Regions from separate parts of the Homo sapiens genome. Here region 1 is linked to region 2. The links are contacts of gene promoters, found by promoter capture Hi-C in human tissues and cell types (Jung and others, 2019). All regions are on one chromosome and are shown on one strand. The core of a region is centred on a gene start or on the middle of the fragment in contact, and the rest is flanking DNA. Distances in the headings are between cores, read along the strand shown. Region 1 overlaps ZP4 (zona pellucida glycoprotein 4). Region 2 holds the start of CHRM3 (cholinergic receptor muscarinic 3).

Region 1 (3,568 bases), core at 318-2,817, 1.5 Mb before region 2:
ACTAGGAAACTACTTGTCAGTTCTGGCTCAAAACTAAGTCTCTGATGATCAAGCCACCTCCAGTTGGAGGATCTATGATCAGATACCTTTAGTCACTGTTCTAGACATTGGTTTAAGTCTGGTGCTCAGACCAGGGAAGATCAGCATCATCTAGGAAATGGCTGGAAATGTGAGTTTAAACCTTTGTCCACACCTACTGAATCAAACTCTGAGAATGGGACCAGGCCTACTGAATTCAAACCGAGAATGGGAACAGTCATCTGTTTCTACCAGCCCTCCCATGATCCTGAGGCACACTCAAGTTTGAGAACCAGTGATCTAGATTCATAATTAGTTCTACCCTAGTTTCCTTGATCTTATGGAAAAATTTTATTCCACGTTCTCTGACCTAAGACCTCTACTAAGTCTGAAATTTTTGTATCAGTTTCTATTCTATTCTCAGTTGAGTTATACTACCAAGCTTAAGAGATAAAGTGATGTGAACAGATGAACTAGTCTGAAATTAACCTTTTACCTTTCAAATGAGAAGCTCAGCACAGGCTGGGAATACACTCTGGTTTTATTGACACATTTGGTCTGGGCAACTCTTCTGTTTCTTGACAGCCAAGTAGGATACTAACAAGGCTCCAAGGATTAAGGTCCCAGAAAGGCCTGCCACCCACAGAACTTTCGAGTCTACAGGAACACCTGGAGGATGGATGGAAAGGTAGGTTAATGTATGCTAAAACCAAGTGATTCTGTGTCCTGACAAAGACTAGCAGTCTTCTGCTATAGGAAGGTCAATTTCTTTTGACTAGAACAAGAGGGATAGAAAGGAGGAAGTTGCTTTGATTAGTAATTTAGTTCACTAGTTTGATCTCCTCCCTCTTGGATACTTACGGAGCTTTTCTGGAGGGTCCTTAGTGGCTTGGAGTAGAATCATGGGGCCTTTGCTAGAAACACTAGCAGTAGTGTTCTGAGAACTGTTGTCAAAATTTCTTCTTCCTGTTAGAGAAATGAGACCTAGTAATTCATTAGTTTTTGCACACATAGGGCAGGGATAGAAAATGTTATGGTGCAAGGCCAAGTGTCTCTATAAAGCTTGGTTCTATGCCTTACAAAAACCTCATTAAGTATATTAATATGTACTTGAACAAGTGAGATTTTATATCTGATGCCATTACCTTAGTTTCACCAGGACTTTCGTATAAAGATGTTAGAAACTATCCCTGAACTGCCATCCTTTTCTAAATAGTACTTTGACAGTATCATGTTTATAATTCAGAGATCTTTCCCTGAAATTCAAAGGTAACTATTAGAACAGAACTTGGAGGCTGAGATGCAGAGAAAACAATTTAATGAGTTTAGATCTGGTTTTCAAGTGAAGTAAAACAAATTTCATTCACTTGAAATATACAGTTTTACGTTTTCTGTATCCTATGTTTTATTAAGAAAGATGGCAAGATGGCAAATGGAAGAGTGGGAAACAAAGGACACACCTGCAGGTGGACAGTGAGGAAAAAAAGCTTTCTGGAGTTTGAGACCAGCCCAGGCAACATAAAGATCCATCTCTATAAAAAAATAAGACAAAGGCCGGGCGTGGTGGCTCATGCCTGTAATCCCAACACTTTGGGGGGCCAAGGCAGGTGGATCACCTAAGGTCAGGAGTTCAAGACCAGCCTGGCCAACGTGGTGAATCCCTGTCTCTACCAAAAATACAAAATGAGCTGGACTTTGTGGCACATGCCTGTAATCCCAGCTACTCAGGAGGCTGAGGTGGGAGAGAGGGGGAGGGGGAGGGCGGGGGAGGGCGGGGGAGGGCCGGGGGAGGGCGGGGGAGGGCGGGGGAGGGCGGGGGAGGGCGGGGGAGGGCGGGGGAGGGCGGGGGAGGGAGAGAGAGGGAGAGAGAGGGAGAGAGAGGGAGAGAGAGGAAGAGAGAGGAAGAGAGAGGAAGAGAGAGGAAGAGAGGGAGAAAGGCTGGGCATAGTAGAATACGCCTGTAGTTTTAGTTGGGAGGCTGAACTGGGCGTATCACCTGAGCTCAGGAGGTCGAGGCTACCATGAACTGTAATCATGCCATTGTACTCCAACCTGCATGACAGAGCAAGAACTGGTCACACACACAAACACACACACACACAAACACACACACACACACACACACACACACACACAAACACACACACACACAAACACACACAAACACACACAAACACACACAAACACACACAAACACACACAAACACACACAAACAGTGTAGAACTGTTTTAATTCTACTTCTATTTGCCAGTTGTAGGACCTCAATCTAAGATGGTTCATTCTTTAGAAGTAGTGATAATATGCATTTTTGGAGATGTTACTTAATGTTGTACTTTGCATAATAAAGCACCATTTAGTTACTATGAGTTTTGCTAGAAGGCACTTAAAGCTTTAGAGGTCATGAATCCAAACTCAGAGGCTAGGCAAGTACAGGTAGAACCCATGTAGACATACAGACACATTGACTACTTAGAAGCATTGGACCCAACGAACTAGAGACCACATTCTAGGTCCAGTCATTCTACTTATAGATCTTTAGGCTGCATTGCCAGACCTGTCAAGCAGGTACAGACATGTTTCTCAACTATTCAGGTGTATCTTGTTAAAATGAGACATAAGATAGGCCATAAACTGCCTTGGTTGGTGGATGAATTAAAGTTTATATGGAAAAAGCTAAGGTTGAGGGTTACCCGAACATTTATAGCTTGTTTTAGGAGACATGGGATTCTGGGAAGCTAGTCATCTTTGTTCTATGGCACCGCAAGTACTTAGAGAAGCCTTAGTAAGATGAATCTTCAGTTTGAGTTGTTTGGCCAGAGACTAGGAAAGGTTAGACATGGGACTCAAGATTCATTCAAATCTGTCCTCTAACAGCTTGGTTACTCACGACTGAGATCAGGACAGGTCACCACACAGGATGGTGTCTCAGCAGGCTGGCAGACTGACACGCTGCAGTGCAGATGCACCTGGGAGCCAACAGAATTCAGGTCATTTGTAGTATCACCATGCCATGTATCTCTAAACCTGCTTTGCCTCCCCAGGAAGAGGTTCAGGAAGTTATCAGAAAATTGATATGGTCCAAGTTGATATCACAATGGCACTAAGGAACTGGAGTCCAGTTGACAGATGTCACTCATGTAATTAGTAACAAGGGTTGCTCTGAGTCAGTACCAATAGCCAGCATTAAAGGGCTTCCTTGGCTGCAGAGTAGTAGGACATGGAAACAGTTGTAAGTTGGGGAGGTTCAGAGCCCTGGTGAGTGTCATGGAAGGGAACATCCTACCGGTCCCCTGAGGGCCTGTTTCTCCACTGTAGGGTTCACAAAGCTGAAGGTGAAGATGCTGAAGCGCTGGTGGTGAGAGGGAAATGGAAGATCCAAGGCTTTCTGGACAGGGATCAGCTGGGTCTGATAGTTGTCTCCAATGTAGGGGCAGCTAGACCAAGAGACCCAGCAGTCAGGATGGGCTTCTTTGAGAATTTCAGCACAGGTGTATGAAAGAACCACTTACCCCTTTACCAGGATGGGCCACTGTGGCTGACTCAGGGGGT
Region 2 (3,587 bases), core at 517-3,016:
TTATTTCAGTATCTTCTCCAGAACATTGCCAGAGGCCAGTCTCAAACTTAACCATTGTATACATACCAGAATATTTTCATTAAAAATTAATAACTTTTGTCTTTCTCTGAAAACTACATAATCACTACTTGTCCATTCTTTTGGTCCTTGCCTGTTCTTTATGGATCAATATTATCAAAGCTACTCCTGTTTCCACAGGCAAATAACAATTCTATGTAATGGGAAAGATATTAAATCCGAATTCATGTTCCTCTTACTAGCTATATAATGGACAATTAAATTATTCCTTTAAATTCCTTTCTCCTTTAGTACACAAGGATAAAATACTCATTTGATTGTTTTAAAGATTAAAGAAGTATCTGAAAGTAACTGTTATATTTTCTTCTGAGAGGTATCCCAATAAAAAGGCTACAATATTGTTATTATTATTACTATTCTAGTATCCTGGATGCAATTTACCTAAGCCTAGATATTTTAATTAATTTAAGTAGCCACATGCTTTCTCACTAGCTATTTTCCCAGCATGATCTCAATCTTTTCTACGCAAAGTTTAGTCTCTTCTCTCCTAAAGATTGTTCTACCTAGAGAAGAATATAGGTTCAGAAAGGAATTCATATACTGGTGTTTCTCTAATCTCTTAGAATTACTTAATTTTTCAAAGAGCTCTATCTTTTCCTATTTATCTTCTTGTTCCAAATAGAATTAAAATCATTTGCTGCCTTTAATATTGTTAAATATTTCATTTCATACTATGCTTCAATTTCTTGCTTTTTTCTTCTTTTTATCTTCCTCCTTCCTTCCTTTTTCTTTCTTTTCTTCTTTTTCAGTTATCATTGTTATGCTTGTCCTTTCTTGTGAGATTCCTCTGTTATCTTTCCTTATGTGCTTTTTAAACAAAACCTCGAGAGTGCCGTGGGACAGCCTCATTGGTATCTTTTCAAATTTGGTATCTCTCCACTTTTTCCTTACATAGTTAGCTGGCAGTAGTACATAATAACCTTTTCTGTCTCTCTCTCTTTCTTTCTTTCTTTCTTTCTTTCTTTCTTTCTTTCTTTCTTAGATTTTCATTCCTCTTGAGCTTTAAAAGACTGGCTAGCAATGTTATATCTTTCATTTTATTTTCTGATTTAAAAAAGTGTGTGTGTGTGTGTGTGTGTGTGTGTGTGTGTGTGTGTGTGTACGCGCGCGCGCGCGCGCGTGCACGTCAGTGTCTTCTTCATGGATGCTTGTCTTATTTTCTCCCAAGGTGTAACTGTCCAGGGAGGGAAAAGTCAAGTCGTCCTCTATTACACTGCTCTGCAGAAACAGACTCACTAAATGTCAAAAAGTAGATGCATCAGACTGTTCCTTAGAGAAAGGTTTGCCATGGAGTCGTATATTGTAACTGAGCTGAAGTTCACTCATCGATAAGTTGTGCCCAAGGAATCGAATTCCTTCCAGTCCTTCTAAGCAGTCCAGGGAAACCAATTTAAAAGCGAACACAACAAAACTAACAGACCGGCAAAATCTATCTTTGAAGCGCCGCGGGAGGCACAATTTGGGAACAGGTGAGGCCATGCTGGGTGGGTGAGGCCCCCCTCTCTCCTGCTTGGTGTTCCGCTTTCAGCCAACCCACCCCAGGAGTACCCTGGGATCTCCTCGCCCCCTGCCAGGCGGAGAACGCGGAGCCCAGCGGGCACGCGGGAATGGAGCTAGGCGCCGGCAGGGCAACTGGGCATGCTCAGAAGCCGGGCAGGTTTTGGTCTCAAGCACGCAGCCTGTGCATTACACCAGCTCTCTCAGTCCGGGGAGGAGGAGGAGCAGGAGGAACGCGAGGAGGAAGGAGAGGAGGAGCGGCCAGCAGTAGCCACGACCGCCACCACCAGGCAGAGGAAGAGTTCGTGGGGAGGAAAAGACCTCTCCTCCCCCTTGGAGCGCCTTCTCTCTGCTTTTGGAGAAAGGGAATACACGATAAAGAAGGAGACGGAAAGAAGAGAAAAAGTGAGGCGGGAGACAGAGGGAAAAGGGCGTGAACAGAAAGGGCCGGAGCGTGCAGGGGAGCACAGGGCGCGGGGGCGGCACTGCCGAGCCGGGAGCGCTGCCGCTTGGGCAGGTGCCGCGGCCGCTGCCCGGAGGCGGCATGTGACGCGCGGCCGCAGCTGCCCGCGGGCGGAGCGCTCTCAGACCCCGGAGCGCACACCGCGGGGCCATCGGTGCCATCGCGGATCTCCAGGCTCCTCATCAGTCCGCCGGGGCCGCAGCAGCGCTTCTGGGAAGACGGGCGATGAACTGAAGGGCGGCTCCGGGCAGGGGGGCACGATCTTAAGGACAGTCGCTCCCTGAACGCGGAGCCGGAGGAGACGAAGGGAAGGTGGAGCGGACGCCACCCGCGCACCGGGCAGGCGCGGAGACCGGCGTGGGACAGCCACCTGGAGCGCAGCTGCCAGGTAGGGACGGCGCCCGCCACCCAGGCGCTGGGCAGAGCGGGTGGCGGTAGCGGCTGACCTGGTTTCTTGCCTTATCTCGTTGCGAAAGGAGGAAAAAGTTTTCGGCGCGGGTAGGAGAGGTCTTGTGTTTGGAGTCCAAAGAAGGGGCTGGGTAGGGACGAGAGAGGCTGTTGATTTGGGGAAGATGGGGGCACTTGAATTCCGACAGCGCGATCTGGTGCGGAGTTGGAGTTCTGGGACTGAGGGTGGGGAACGCCCGCTGGCACTCAAGTGCCCCGAAAGGGACGGGAATCATGCGAGCGGTGGCCGGGAGAGAGTCGGGGACGTCCCACCCCGCTCTCCCTCGCTTCGATTCTCTCTTCGCCACTGCCGGATCTGAGGCTCCAAAGTGCCCGAGCATGAGGAGCTACTGGGCTCCGGGTGTGTTTGTGAGCGCACTCGTGTGTTGAGCGTTTGTCTCCCATCTCCCCATTTGGTTTCCTGTCATTTCTAAGAAGGCTAAAGCTGGCACCCGCCAACCTCGCAGTGGGGCCGCAAGTTCGGATTGCATTTCAGGGGGCGAGAAGGCAAATTTGGCACTTCGAGTAACACTTGGGCGAAGGTACCTAGCCTAGTGCGCATCTTTACTGACCCGGGGAGAGTCTGCACTCGCGAGGCAGCGGCCGCTGGACTGCACCGGTTCTCCTCTTTGGAACACTTCCTCAGCATAGCCTCCTAATAGCGAGGTTAATTTTTGCGTGTTTTTAAACGGCGGGGGCGGGCGGACAGTTGACTCCAGCAGCAGAATTCACTTGTCTACTTCGCGGTGTGCGTGCTGGAATTGAGATCCTGTTCTGCATGCTTGTGCGTGTGTCCGACTCTCCTTGCACGCATTTGGAAGTGGTAGAGGCAGCAGGGATTTGGGAACTGCATCCATATGGATAGGTTTCAAGAATGCAAACCTTCATTTGTCTGCAAGTGTTACTGGAACCTGTCCAAAGGCTGCAAGGATATGTCCCCTCGATCCCCGCCAGTGTCCGTGTTTGCAATGTGAAAGGGCGGCCCTCTTTAGGACAAAAATGTATTTATCAAAGCGATGTGTGGTTAAGAACACTGGTTATTTCACCATATGCTTTGCACAGACTTTTCCTTTCTCTCTTGCCCTCTGAGTTCCAAGACAGA

The links. Contacts are between HindIII fragments. The study calls those that stand out against the background at their distance.
Region 1: a fragment that was not itself captured here is called in contact with the fragment with the promoter of CHRM3 in region 2 in 1 of the 25 tissues and cell types used here (dorsolateral prefrontal cortex).

Annotation. Positions count from the first base shown.
Region 1 is chr1:237,881,863-237,885,430 of GRCh38, forward strand. It overlaps ZP4 (zona pellucida glycoprotein 4), which reads right to left. Exons shown (of 12, transcript NM_021186.5): 8 at 3,529-3,568; 9 at 3,303-3,453; 10 at 2,907-2,985; 11 at 880-984; 12 at 542-687. The coding sequence ends at 560. It also overlaps the pseudogene LOC100130331. Among named protein-coding and RNA genes, the nearest start is that of ZP4, 7.3 kb to the right of the region's middle. The HindIII fragment of the contact is 4,833 bases long and covers 1-3,568 here.
Region 2 is chr1:239,384,802-239,388,388 of GRCh38, forward strand. CHRM3 (cholinergic receptor muscarinic 3) reads left to right here and starts at 1,767. Exons shown (of 7, transcript NM_001375978.1): 1 at 1,767-2,426. RefSeq lists enhancers at 2,489-2,989, 2,990-3,490. The HindIII fragment of the contact is 18,968 bases long and covers 1-3,587 here.